5 separate regions of the Homo sapiens genome follow, and all the other regions are linked to region 2. Evidence: promoter capture Hi-C in 16 types of primary human blood cells and fetal thymus (Javierre and others, 2016). All regions are on one chromosome and are shown on one strand. Each heading gives the region's core, a stretch centred on a gene start or on the middle of the fragment in contact. The rest is flanking DNA. Distances are from core to core; before and after follow the strand shown. Region 1 overlaps PCNX2 (pecanex 2). Region 2 holds the start of NTPCR (nucleoside-triphosphatase, cancer-related). Region 3 has its middle 29 kb from the start of SIPA1L2. Region 4 overlaps SIPA1L2 (signal induced proliferation associated 1 like 2). Region 5 overlaps PCNX2 (pecanex 2).

Evidence for each region. The method cuts DNA at HindIII sites, captures the fragments that hold promoters and counts their contacts. A CHiCAGO score of 5 or more calls a contact.
Region 1: a fragment that was not itself captured here is called in contact with the fragment with the promoter of NTPCR in region 2 in 1 of 17 cell types (neutrophils); the score reaches 5.5 in neutrophils.
Region 3: a fragment that was not itself captured here is called in contact with the fragment with the promoter of NTPCR in region 2 in 2 of 17 cell types (M1 macrophages and M0 macrophages); the score reaches 6.5 in M1 macrophages.
Region 4: a contact is called between a fragment that was not itself captured here and the fragment with the promoter of NTPCR in region 2, in 4 of 17 cell types (activated CD4 T cells, erythroblasts, megakaryocytes and 1 more). The highest score is 5.4, in activated CD4 T cells.
Region 5: a fragment that was not itself captured here is called in contact with the fragment with the promoter of NTPCR in region 2 in 3 of 17 cell types (neutrophils, M1 macrophages and M2 macrophages); the score reaches 7.8 in neutrophils.

Annotation. Positions count from the first base shown.
Region 1 is chr1:233,256,079-233,258,885 of GRCh38, forward strand. PCNX2 (pecanex 2) reads right to left here. Exons shown (of 34, transcript NM_014801.4): 5 at 1,950-2,807. Among named protein-coding and RNA genes, the nearest start is that of PCNX2, 38 kb to the right of the region's middle. RefSeq lists an enhancer at 1,782-2,807. The HindIII fragment of the contact is 3,879 bases long and covers 1-2,807 here.
Region 2 is chr1:232,949,313-232,952,012 of GRCh38, forward strand. It overlaps NTPCR (nucleoside-triphosphatase, cancer-related), which reads left to right and starts at 1,299. Exons shown (of 5, transcript NM_032324.3): 1 at 1,299-1,432. The coding sequence starts at 1,399. LOC107985361 (a long non-coding RNA gene) reads right to left here and starts at 2,237. Exons shown (of 2, transcript XR_001738525.2): 1 at 2,016-2,237; 2 at 1-1,844. RefSeq lists enhancers at 1,021-1,120, 1,033-1,574, 1,575-2,114. The HindIII fragment of the contact is 8,064 bases long and covers 1-2,000 here.
Region 3 is chr1:232,657,665-232,660,364 of GRCh38, forward strand. No RefSeq gene overlaps it. Among named protein-coding and RNA genes, the nearest start is that of SIPA1L2, 29 kb to the left of the region's middle. The HindIII fragment of the contact is 2,680 bases long and covers 1-2,651 here.
Region 4 is chr1:232,618,469-232,621,328 of GRCh38, forward strand. The region is part of intron 1 of SIPA1L2 (signal induced proliferation associated 1 like 2); the gene reads right to left. Among named protein-coding and RNA genes, the nearest start is that of SIPA1L2, 10 kb to the right of the region's middle. The HindIII fragment of the contact is 1,358 bases long and covers 764-2,121 here.
Region 5 is chr1:233,238,499-233,241,198 of GRCh38, forward strand. The region is part of intron 8 of PCNX2 (pecanex 2); the gene reads right to left. Among named protein-coding and RNA genes, the nearest start is that of PCNX2, 56 kb to the right of the region's middle. The HindIII fragment of the contact is 5,656 bases long and covers 1-2,700 here.

The sequences.
Region 1 (2,807 bases), core at 5-2,504, 310 kb after region 2:
CTTGATAACTAAGCCTATCTCTTCCCATAGAATACCTCATATCTCCCTGCACACAACCTCAATTTCCAGTTTAACCCTTCTGATTGAATGTGGCTGGCTGAAAAAATTAAGAAGAGCAAAAACTCAAGTAGGCAAACCAAATAAACTTTACATACAGCCTGAGGGGAAAACAAAAATAAAAGACTAAAATTGATCAAATAGCAAAATTTTTCACATATTTTCCTAATTGAATCCTCACAATAAATCTACAACATATTATGATTCCTGCTCTGTAGAAGAAACTCCAACACAGATGGATTTGATCAATTGTCCAAGCTCAACCAGCTGGTATTACTGAACCAAAATCTGGCCTTGGGCTATCTGATTCCAAAGTCAGTGCTCTATCCACTGGACACACTGCTTCTGGGAAGGCCTTCATGCGCTCTGGGTTATCACTGGCTAATACAGTAGCCAATAGCCACATGGCTACTTAAATGAATTAAAATCTAATGAAATTAAAAATGCCAGTTCTCATCTACACAACCCCCTTTTAAAGTATTAAATAGCTACCTGTGGCCACTGGCTACCATATTGGACTGCAGATATGGAATATTTCTATCACTGCAGAAAATTTTATTGGACAGTGCTAGCCTAGAGGTATGAATCTTTATATTAGATAGATGATAAACACCCAAATCTTTAAATACAAAAGTTTTTATCTCAGGTTACTCCTGCTTTATATACCGCCCTGTCTGTTAAAAAGTTTAACTGAATCAGAAAAAATTGCTCAGAGCAACCAGTATGGAGCCAGAGGAGCTCCTGGCTGTCCAGAAAGCAGAGGAAAAATCCCAGCACTAAGAAACGTTACTACCTACAGCACAGAAAATGAGCTACCATATGCAAACACAACTTTCAGTCAGCATTCCTACCATACAGATGCTATCTCAATACAGATCTATGTAGAAATGATATGCTCAGAAATCACAGCAGTAACAGAATTTAAAGCTAAAAGACCTTATAAAAGCTCTAGTCCAGTAACATCATTTTATCCATGAGGAAACTGAGGCCCAGAGACATTAAGTAACCTGAAAATAAATGTACCTTATCTTCATATAGGAAATATCATTTAATTTTTATGAGCAAGGACTGTGGAACAAGACTGCCTGGAATCAAATCTCAGTTCCAGCACCTCCTGAACTTACTAGATACTTGGGAAAGCAAGTGAAAATTTCTGAGACTCATCCGAAGAACAGGAAGGATGATGGTATATCCATAACGTAAAGTTATATAAGGAGTAAGTGAGTTAATATGAGAGTAACTGTATAATTTATCATCTAAACTGGGGACTCTTTTGAGAGACAAAGTCAGTGCTCTTAATAATTATGTTGGCAAAACATGTGTAAATGAGAACCCTTCCAGGCAAACCACAAGGTACAGTCACCCTCGTTAATACATGCAAAGTGCTTAGAACACTGCCTGGCATAAATTAAGAGCGGCAGAAGTGTTTGTTATTATTATGTGTACAACATGGGATAATTAGCGGATTCTGTATTTTATAATAGAACTCAGCAGGAAAAGTAGATTCACTTCACAGAAATTTGTCTTAGAATCAACTTTCCCAGAAGGCATCTATTCCATAAAGTAAGAAATATCTATTGCGAGTACTTGCCACAGTAGTAAAATATAATTGCTTATTTCTCTGGGAGTAAATAGTCTTGCCTTCTATAGGGAAGCAAAAAAATTATGACAATGCCTTAAGTGTCCTGGTAGAGTAGGACAATATATGTATACATGTTCATCACAGAGCTTAGTATCGGTACATTCAGCAAATATTGATGAGAAAGCCAAGCAACAAACGATTGCCCAAGAGTTGTCTCACTATTTGCAAAATCAAATTACACAAGGCAAATGGCAAAAAGGTGTATTGCCTTCTATGTCATCATCAGAACGGAAATGACATGGAATCGCACCTCGGAGAAGCCCACTTTCTTCATTCTGCTCAGCTGAGCCATTCAGTTGACTGGATGCCGTCATCTTGGAAGTATTAATGGATTCTAACAGGGAGACAAATTCCAGGAAGTTGGACTCATTTGGCATTTGTCCTTCCTTAGCCTCTAGGTCAGATTTGGAAGTTGGCATTGTTTTCTCTGTATCGTTAACAATTTCTGCAGAACTTTTACTCAAGAAGACATCTGTCCCACTGTCCACACTGAGCACCCGGGCATGCCTCTTTTCATGGCTGGACTTACAAGACGATGGGTCAAGGTTAGTCTGGCCTTCCTTCCCCACCTTAGACTCGGAGCCTGTATCAGGTGTAAGCCGGGACACCGATTCCCAGGGTTCCCGTGATGAAGAACTGTGATCCTTGATGGCATTTCCCCCCTCCCCAGATCCGTAGCCAGAACACTGATTGGTGGATACCCTCGTCTTCAGTCTCTCTGGAGTCCTTTCACTTCCATTGCCTTCGGGACAGGGAACACCTCCTCCCCCACCCTCAGGCAGGTCCAGGGTGATTACAGGAATTGAGATCTGCTCGGCATTTGGAGAACCGGCCGCCCCTGGGTTAGTGGGCTCAGCGTCAGACTTTACACTGGTCTTCTCTGTGCCAACCACCCTCAGGTGGAGGGAGCTTTCCAAATCTGTCATGGAGTTTGGGGTACTGCTCATCGTGATAACAATTTTTATGGGCTCATGTAGACTCAGTGGGTCTCCGGGTTGAGAAGTATCGATGAGAGTAACAGCTACCTCACTATCTGAGGAGTCCACTTCCTGGTGCAAGGGCAGGTCCCCCTGGCAGGAGGTATCTACCTGACAGGATGTGTCTGCTG
Region 2 (2,700 bases), core at 49-2,548:
AGAGGTCCATGTGTGGGCAGAAACCAATTAAGTTGAGCACTCACTGAACTGCTTTCTCAGCCAGGATGGGGAACGACTGACTACAAATTAAGCTGTACACATGTTAGACTGAAAGAGTTTACAGGTAAATGTGGCCCAAGGCCACTGCCACGTCATTCGTTGGCCGGAACACTTGCAGTGGTAAAGTGAGACGGAGAAGCTATTTAATTCTTTGCAAGAGGAGATCTTTATACACTTTGGTGTGAAAGTAAAGAGGGAAAACTGGGCGTCCTATGCATGGCTGAGGACGGGAAGCCTGCCTACACCAGTGGTTCTCAACCCTAGCGCACTTCAGGAACTTCCTGGAGTTTAGAAAGAAGAAAAAAGAATACAGGTGCTCAAGACTCGCTCAAGACCAATTACTCATGTTAAACAAGATTTATGGGAGGCCATTGTTTTGGACTAACCTCCTGCACTAGGTCCTAGCAGACTAGACCAAACCAGAATGGAGTCACTTGTGCCAAGTGCCATGTAACCAAACTGAACTTTGAAACAGGCCCGTTTTCCCAAAAAACAGGAGATTGTAGTTAACCTGAGTCAGTACAATAACGAAGTCCAATCTGTTTTAACCCTATAAGGAAAGTAACTTTGAAATACCCACTCTTTGTTTTGTTCTTCAGCCTTTTTTTGCCCATAAAGCCAACCTCCTCTGCACAACTCATTGGAACACTCTATTTGCTTTATGAAATGATCTATTTCTCGATTCTAGATCCTAAATATAAGCCAATTAGATCTTTAAACTAAACTTGTAATTTTGTCTTCTGACACTCCCTATTACTGCAGGTGAAACCCAGGCATCAGAGCAAGTTTAAAACTCCCCAGCTGATTCTATTCTGCAGGAATGTTTGAGAACAAAGTTGGAGTCATTAACATGGCATCCCCCTTTGAGGAATGCTTCCAGGTCACAAACCTTCTACAAAAGGGCTGTCCCGGCAGCCTTGGGCAATTTCAGCTCCTAGGTCCGGAGTCAAGGGGCAGAACTTGGGTGATGGCGCTGACTTGAAGCAGCAATAGTTTAATAACTGACGTTCTCACGCACTTATCTCTGCAAATACCCCACAAAAGCCCTGAACCCAGAATGAAACTTAAGAGACCGTACAACCCGCTCCGCCTATAGGAACTGCCGCGGCACAGGCGCCAATGCCGAGGGCTGAATGCGCAGGCGCGGACCGGGGACTCGGGAGAAGGCGCATGCGTGGTCTTGAGGGCGGTGCTTCCGGTCAAAGCACCGCTTGGGGGCGGGGCCTGCGACACGCGGTGGGCGGGTCCTGAGTCGCGACCCTGGTCCGGACCTGACCTGAATTGCGACCCCAACCTGGACTGCTCCCCTGACCGCAACCCCTACCCCCGCCCACCAGTATGGCCCGGCACGTGTTCCTAACGGGGCCCCCAGGTAACCCTGAGGGGATCCCCACCTCCAAGAGGTCGAGGGGGTGGGGGCGCGCGGGCTGCGGGCGACCTTGTGCTGTCGGGGAGGGTCTCCGGCTCCAGGGCTCCGGCCTCTGAAGTTCCCAATTTAAATGGCGGGCTTGGTAGTCTGAAGAGTTTGTACTCCTTCCCGGAAAACGTGATTTAAAAGACACAGGGCCTAAAGGATTAGAACACACTTGTGAGGGGGTCCTAGACTGGCTTCTTGATGAAGGGCAGAAACCGCAGGGGCCAGCGGCAGCGGTAACTCCTACTGTAGTGTTGACGTTGTGGTCTGCACAAATGGTATTTCAAGAGATCTGCGGCAACCGCGATGTGAAGTGGAGATGTCTAATTTCTGTTGATAGTCACAGGTATTTCCTTACTGTGGGTCTTTGCTACATTGATCGTGCAAAAAAAAAATGGTAAATTTTAGTTGGAGGACAGCGAAACTGAAGTTGTAACCTTTCTTTCCCATCTAAGTTCATCCCCCCACCCCCATCCCCATCTCCATCCCCACGAATTCCCTCCACAGCTGAGGCCAGAGGTGGAGAAGCTTTGGTACCTACAGGAGCCCTTCTCAGACACTCTTGCTTGTTCCTGTCGCTGTCCCCTCCTGATGTCTGTCAGATCCCTCAACCCTGTGGCCTGTGGAGTTCTCATCTGAGAAGCAGGATAGCGTTGAGGTCAGATGAGAGGTGTAGGAGGAGGTGCTTTTAAACCAAGGCGCTACCCATGTATCAAGCATTACTAAAAAGGACAGGTAGGCTGCATCAGATAGGCTAAAAAAAGATAGATGGGCTAAGAGTGGAGAAAGTGATTTCTTCAGCTCCTTTGCAAGGCAAATCTAATTTTGAAGTTTAGTGTGGGTTCAGATATCAAAGGCTGTAACCCTGGATCTAGAATTCTCTTTCACTTTATTTTAATGATTATGTTTAGTTGTAAGTAGCAAAGGCTACAGCTAATATTGCAGACTTTGGGATTTTGTCAGGCATTGGATGGGGGAGTTGGGGAGCAGGGGGTGAGGAGGAGGAGGGTGGTTTGAGAAATGCCTGCTATCTAAAGTCACTCCTAAGTATTGCAAAGAACTGTTTTCTGAAAGTTGGTTTGTCAATCCTTTATTTGAAACTTGGAATGCAGTTTGATACTCAGCAGGCTGACCCCAAGACAACTGTGTGTTTTATTAATGGAGGTGTCCTGTTACCGTGATTGTATTGATGGTGGTTCTTGTTTCTGCTTTATCAAAGTCTTACC
Region 3 (2,700 bases), core at 62-2,561, 290 kb before region 2:
GTATTGCTGATTGGGAAATGGCCACCATATAATCTCTCCAGGAATGTGATGAAATTGCACTTCCAGTTGTATTGCTTTCCCTGCCAAAAATGAAATCCTTCTTTTTAACTGATTTTTCCTCACAATAGATAACAGACAACTTTGAATTCTACATAAAAATAATTATGGAAACAATTTTAAAAGACCTATTGCAATATCTTCAGATCAATTCCAAGTGAACAAATCATGGTGACATTTGCTTGGCCATGTGACATGGAGGCAGTTGGTATCAGACTCAGCATCTTTATGCTACACAGTAAGACAAAATCTGAGCTCTTAAACTTTAGACATGAAGGAAAAAAACACACACACACACAGCAGCCCAAATTGAGAAGCTGAAGACAGCCTTCAGGAAGATATAGGTACTATGTATCTCACACCTAAATGTCCTCCATAAATAGATAATATGATTGATCCAGAAGTAGACTGTGCTGAAGAAAAGAAGAAGAAAATGAACTAGATAATTTTCCAAAGCCTCTCATCCACCAGCCCTTCCCCTAAACCTGAGGGCTGCACACTTGCTTATGCTATCTTGATCTCTGCCTTAGAGAAAGAAGCCTAGGGGGACAATTTCTCTTACGAAACACATCACAGTTCATCTCTTCTTTGCAAGGATTTATAACAAGAGAAAGAGACACATTTATTTTCTTGTAACTGTAGGCAGCAAGACATCATTGAAAATGCATGAGAATTGCAGTTGGTAAATCTGAGTTCAAGGTCAGAGGGGAAATTTCATCTCTCTGAGATTTGGCATACACATCTGTAACCAGGGACTAATAATTCCTACACAGTGGAGATATCTTGAGAATTAAAGGTCCTAAGGCCTATGAAAATGGTATGCAAACGTTGATCTAGAAAGGACCAGGGAAAATCATCTTGACCACTCTAGCTCTCGGCAGGATCACATCTCAGTTTTCCTGGACTGAATTAAACAAGTTCAGAGAAGGAACTAAAATGGAAAGTGTTTGATAACATTCCAAAGGCACAATACATAAATTCTTATATTATAGCTTCAGTCCCTGTGGCTTTCTTTGCATCTCAGTGAAGATGGAAAATTTACCATATAATTAATGGCTTTTGTTTTCACGAAGCCTGTAGTATCACTTCTCAGCCATTTCTTTTAGAAACGGAATACTGCCAAAACTTTAACTGTTCCTTAAAACTGTGTTTGGAGGTATGCTGTACACTCTCTCCAATTACTCTAGCTCATTTTTTTCTGGGACTCAGAATTCTGTTAGTATGGATTCAGGTCCCGTTCTGATGCAGTACTTTATGGTTCCTACTTGGGATGCACTCAGCCTTTTTATCCTACTGATAGGACATCAGCTCCTTATCTACTGTAGCCCCTCAATCTTTTCCTGCCATTTATGTATATAGAATTGTTTTGTCTTGTATTTATGCATTTTCTCTGCCCTTGATGTACTTTTCTTAGTTCAAGTTGCCGGTTTATTGAAAACACAATAAATTCCTATAGTCCTATATTTCAAGATCTCTGCCCCACATATCTTAGTGTTAACTGCGAAACCAATGAAGGATACTCTCATTCCACCATCCAGGGGTTATGCAGTGCTGGGTCTAGAACCAATATCCTGTGAGCAATGATTGCCATGAAATTTTAAGTTGGTATTGCTATTTTTAAAAGTCCTCTCTTGCACATGAATTCCCCACCATGTGTATGGTCATATAATAACTATGAGCTAAGTTAGCTCGTGTAGCCCTAGTATTTTCGTATGATACATAGACCAGAATAAAAGTCTCTGTGAAGCTAAGATACCAGTGATTTTCTGGGGTTCTCCCTGGCTTATTTTCATCAAAGAAAAGGACTTGATTGGCCTGACCAGGTTTGTATTTCATAAAGCTGCGTTGGTGGCTAACCAGGATTTTTATCCTCTTTAAGGCAATTTCAAAATGAGTTTTTCTGGGATATAAGCAAATAGTTAATCTTCACTGAATAGAGCAGATTCAACGCTGACTCTTAAGGGCTGGGAGATTTTTGCTTTGAGCTGACCATTTACACATTTTCACAAAGAAAAGATAGTGACTTGGGTAAACACAGACCTCTCTCCTTAGAACCTTTCAGCAACAAGCTGGTAACTACAGTCCTTTATGATAGCAATAGGGGAAATGTATCCTTTCCCTACCCTCTGCCCACCATTAACTACTATAGTCTTGTTAACAGATGAAATAAATTTGATGTATTAATTCAGCAAAAGCCACATGTTCTGAATTAAAGGAAGCAAAATGACTTTAGGTAAAACAGGAAACGTTGTGAATCAGCTGCTGTTTTGGTAAGTCAGCCTTCCACAGCCAAACTGATGCCTGTTACAAGTTTTCAGCCTTCCACAGCTGAACTGATGCCTGTTACAGGTTTTCAGACTTCCACAGCCTGACTGATGCCTTTTACAGGTTTTCAATCAACTTGACAATAATAATAGCAGAGGTAACATACCAGCTTATTCGAAGAGAAGTATTAAATAACATAAGATTTCCCACTCGGATCTAATTTCTTCACCTCATGCTTTAAAACACTGAAGGGGAAGGTGTACAAAAACCTTGTTTCACCCAACTTTGGCACCTTCTCTGTAGTACTTATGTATTTTATCCTTCAAAAAAGCTTTTTGCAACTCACACTAAAATCATCAATATATCTAGAGAGGCACT
Region 4 (2,860 bases), core at 193-2,692, 330 kb before region 2:
GATGGTGAAACCCCGTCTCTACTAAAAATACAAAAATTAGCTGGGCATGGTGGCGTGCGCCTATAATCCCAGCTAATCAGGAGGCTGAGGCAGGAGAATCGCTTCAACCCAAGAGTCGGAGGTTGCAGTGAGCCAAGATTGCACCAGTGCACTCCAGCCTGAGGGACAGAGTGAGACTCCATCTCAAAAAAAAAAAAAAAAACTCTTGTTACTCCGCATAATTTTAAAATAAATCACTTCAGTGTATCAATTATCAAGTTATATATTCCTAAGTATAAAGTCTCAAAACAAAACACATGACCTTGAGTTGCAAATATAATACTATGTGTATATTCTGTCAACTAACTGAAATGAATTCAGTAATTTTATACCAAAACGTCATTTATATCTCTGTATATCCAAAGTAATTTTTCCTTTAGTTTTATGACACAGTCTATAACCTTCAGTAAATTACAGTGAGGAAAAAAAACATAATGACCATCTTACGTGATAGACAAAGTAATTATCACCACTTTGAAAATACTGTCCGTCACTTCTCCTTAATGTTGCTTTTGTTAATAAAATGCATCTCTGGAGTTGCAAAACCTAAACCAGGCAAAAAGATGAGTTTGTATTTAAGCAGATCATTTTAATAGAGATAGTACTGTGATCAAAGGAACAACTGAGAGTGTTCTGTATGTATCTTCTGGTCTTGGAGAGGGCCTACAGTTTCCCTGCACACAAGAGGCCCTCAACAAAAACTCAAATCCTAACCATTTTCCAAAGCTTAACTCAAGTTCTATCTTCCTTGAATGTTTTCCTAACCATGCAAACCCACCTTATTCTCAGCTAACCACACAGTCTTTCATCTGAAAGAAGCTGTAGCGCCCATCTATCATATGGTCTCATTTACACAGGAATCTTTTTCTAATACACCTGACACATAGCCATCAACTCTGCCCAAGTTAGTTAGTTCATCACCTAAGAAGGCAGTGCATTCATCACCTAATAAGGTAGCCCATGCTACTACACAATAGCTCTAGTGATTAAATCATGCCCTCTGATAGTTCTGAATCAGTAACATCAGGAAGTTTAACTAGAAGAACACTCAAAGTCCCTCCGAGGACTAAATTCTAAGAGTCAGTTAATTTGCTGACTCTGCCTGACAGCTACCCAGGACGGGATGGAAGGGATGGAAGGACAAGATCCCTGTCCTCAGGGGTCTCACACCCTAGGGTGCCCCTGTTAACTTGGAAATCTTAGAATGCCAGCATTTAAAAAGACTTCAAGATGGCATGGTCCCACATCCTTATTTTAAAATTGGATTATAGTCACTGCCCCAGAAAGCTGAGGGAGTTAGACAAGGCCATGGAAGAACCCCTTATCCCACTTGTATCATCTGCAATAGCAGGATATTCTACTCTGCTCTTAAATGCTCCAAATAGATTTTTTTTTTAAGATGGAGTCTTGCTCTCTCACCAGGCTGGAGTGCAGTGGCGCGATCTCAGCTCACTGCAACCTCCGCCTCCCGAGTTCAAGCGTTTCTCCCGCCTCAGCCTCCTGAGTAGCTGGGATTACAGGCACGCGCTGCCAAGCCTGGCTAATTTTTGTATTTTTAGTAGAGACGGGGTTTCACCATGTTGGTCAGGCTGGTCTTGAACTCCTGAACTCATGATCCGCCCGCCTCAGCCTCCCAAAGTGCTGGGATTATGGGCATGAGCCACCACGCCCGGCCAGATTTTTTTAAATTACCATTTTTCTCCGTAGTTTTACCTGTTCCAAAAAGGAAGAAGATAAAAGTTCACTTTTAAACACACTAATGCTTGCAGGGATGACAAGGAAAGCAAGTGCATATTGCCAGAACCCTGTTCCATGAAGGTAGGTGTCTCGATGTACACTTCTCTCCACCTTCCTCAACACCTCCCAGGGTGCTACAGCAAGGGAAGTACAGATGTGCTAAGCCTTTGCTATTGGAATAACAAAGAGCGTAGTAAGATGAAAGCAGTGTCTCTTGAAACTCTCCTAGGGCCTTGTTCCTCATTCCATGCACATATCCTGTGCCGACTCAACATCCCCTCTGCTCCACAGCTTATCTCAGAAAGAACTAAGTTACGGTGCCAAGCTAAGAGGATGAATTTAGAAAGCTTCACATAACCAGACGCACAGCGACAGCAGCCATCAGACATCACCCAGATTTAACTGCCCTAAAATTAGCAGTCAGAGCAAAGTAGTTACTGCAATGATTGCGTCAGAGCTATTCTGACTGGCAAACTGCCAGTTTTAAACAAATTGTCCTGCTTTCTCTACCAGGGAAACAATATTTTGGAACAGAGCCAGCTAAGCATTTCAGTGAATGTTCAAATTCTAGCTTCTCTATTAATGTTGTATAATTCAATGACAAGGTGAACAAAGTCTACATAGGCTACATCTGCAAGGGTGTTATTTTCTTTGTTGTAAGCACTTATTCTTTGGGTGAGTAAAGTACTGTGGATGAATCCTTTTAAATATTTAAATGCCTGAAATGTATTTAGGGATTCACATTCAACTGGCTTAAACAAAGATTATGCAAATCTAGCAAAATATAAATGCAAAACAAAAATTGTTTTCCTCTTATATTTCTTTTAATCTTGGCAAAGACTCGGGCTAAAAAAAATGTTCTCTGCATGATCACAGAAGGACCCACTCACTTCCCAACAAAGAATATATAACCTGATTCAATCAGTAAAACTGCTACCTCACCACAAATTACAAAATTTCTAGTTAATAACAGACAATTCACTGGCTGAGAGAACAGGGCAGTTTTTAGACCAGAACAATGAGCTCATTAGCCCAACCCTCAGCCTCCACTTCCCCCTTTCAGTGATAGTGAGTCGGTAATTCC
Region 5 (2,700 bases), core at 81-2,580, 290 kb after region 2:
CTGGCAACACAGTGAGACCTAAGCGCTACAAAAATAGAAAAAAAATTAGCTGGGCATGGTGGCACATGCCTGTAGTCCCAGCTACTTGGGAGGCTGAGGTGGGAGGACCACTTGAGCCTGGGAGGTCTAGGCTGCAGTAAGCCATCATCATGCCACTGCACTACAGCCTATGTGAACAGAGTAAGATCCTGTCTCAAAAAAAAAAAAAAAGCAACTTTCATACACACATGTAAATAAACATAAACTTCAATACATTCAATAAAGTCTTCATATAAAGAACCGCTTAGGAAACATAACATGATGAAGTCAGGGTTTAGGACGTGAACCAGGTAGAGTAAGTACGTAGAGTTTGAAAACTTAAAAATCCTGTGCTTCCATTATTTAATGTTTGCTCCTAAAATAATGCTTTTCCTTCTTGTCTATATTAGTGGCATAATCTCTGTCGTTAACAGAGAAAAAGATTAGTTAGATTTATAAAAACAATGTTCATTCAAACTCTTCTGCGTTGTACGGAAGCCACTGAGTAATGTAACTCTGTCATTTCACATCGAAATACAACAGAACTGAAATTGCAATGTTGACACAAATTCAGAGATATCTTAAACGGAGCACATGCCAGAACTTCACTACAAACAAAAGATTAAGCTAACTACATTGTAGGTAAGGTAGGTAATGATCATAAATAGGCAAGAGTGGGAAAAGAAATGTACGCTTCTGTGCAAAAAAGTAGAAGGTGTACAGCACCCTCTATCGCCAACTGAAATAAACTAAGAATTGACTACGACATAATGTGTAACGAATGGCTGTTTTAGAGCAGTCTTCCTCCTACTAAGGTGTCCTGCTAGGAAACATGATACAAAGGAAGTGTCAATCAATACATATCAGCTTAATTTTTCCATATTTCTTAGTACATTTCAGATTGTAAAATAATAATAATAATAAACATCATTTTCCTATATAAGCCATTTAAATATCCTTTAAAAAATCTATGGGTTGATTTTCTATTTAAGATCTTTTGGGTCAGTTCTAGAATTAAACAGAACTAGGTTAAAGTATACTACTCACTATCTGTGACTATAAGCATGTTGTCTTCCTACCTTAAATCCTCCCTATTAAATCAGGAAGATATTTTCCTCGTAGGTATCATTGTGAAAACTAAACCAGACTATGTATGTAAAGCAGTGAACACTGCCTTTCATATATTATGTACTTCATAACCATCCCTGGCCCTTTTTACTTCCTTTTGTTGATATAGGATTGACTTTGCTTTTTCTTATATTAAATAGCAACATAACTCCTATGCTTTTATGCAAATGGTATATTAATTTCAGGTGTCTCTGTTAGCAGGCATGGGGGAAGAGTATCTTGCCCTCAAATCACACCTAATCCTCCTTATTTTATAAAGACAGTCTCAAACAGCATATTAACTTCCCTCTTAATTAACCTCTTTTATGAGGGTTGAGTATTCCAGACAAGGCATGGGCATATAAGAAAGATTCTCTTCTGAGCTTAATGACTGGTATATGTCTGCATCAGAAACCTGTATTGTCATCTGTATTGTCATGTGTATATGGGCTCTCCATTTGGCCAGGAGGAAATGGTTACATGCTTACAGTAAGCATTGCTCAAATGGAGACGTTTCCCTTATGTGATATAATTCTCTGGTGTCCTGATAGTGTAGTTATAATCCAGCTTGCCCACCCAAGTACCAAAGAGACGATGATGTCCACAAAAATCACTGAAACGGACAGGTGGACAGGAGCGCAATCTTTGAATAATTCCAAAGTCTATGTTCTTTGCTAGCGTCTCTTCTCCAAGTATTTGCTGCTTATTCTCTCTCATTTTTTTTAAGTTATAGACTGTGAGCAGCATAATCATCTAAAAAGACAGTATCTTAGTAACTTAAAGCCAAAGCGTTTCCCACATTAATACATATAAAGTGAAAGCGTTAAGTTTCAAGAGACATTTTCTCTTCCTCCAAAACAATAATGGAAATGGAAATATCCCAAGCCTGTAGTAACTATTCTGTGAACTACAGTACACGATACTTAGCACATCTGGTCTCAATTATCCCGTTCTCTGGTGAATCTTTGGTAAACTAGTTTGGTTCAGGGCTATAGCAGAGATAAGTTTATTTAAGCTAGATTGAGCTCCAAGCAATAGCAGAAATAGTGATTAATGGTGGAAATTTCTAAAAGTGCTGCCACTAGAAGGTAATAAAGACGGGCCTGGGGCTAGGATCTAGTCTGGGCCAGAAGAGTGCACTTCTGTATGGAAGGAGTTGGGCCTCAAATTGACCATGACGATATTCCACCATACTGGACTCACCAGGTTTCCACCATCTGAGCTTCTACAAGCAACAGACAGTCAAAATACATGTGCTTCTTCTACACTGTCTCACTGATATTGGAAAAACATTTCTTGAAATTCTTCATCTTCCCCAGAGTTTAAAGACGATAGCCTATCACTCTCAGAGAGAGGGCCTCCCTTTTTCTGCCTCTTTCCTTGTTTTTCAGGCTTCCTCCAGGGACATGGGCACAAGGCGCATAGAGGGACACAGAAATGAAAGTCCCAGCAACATGTTCAACATGTAGGATGTTTAACTAAAGCAGCACTGTTCTGAAAACCATAACCTGTTATTTTGAATTTTAACAGGGATTCTTGTTCAATTCTCCTTTTATGTGACAGTAAAATTTGTGT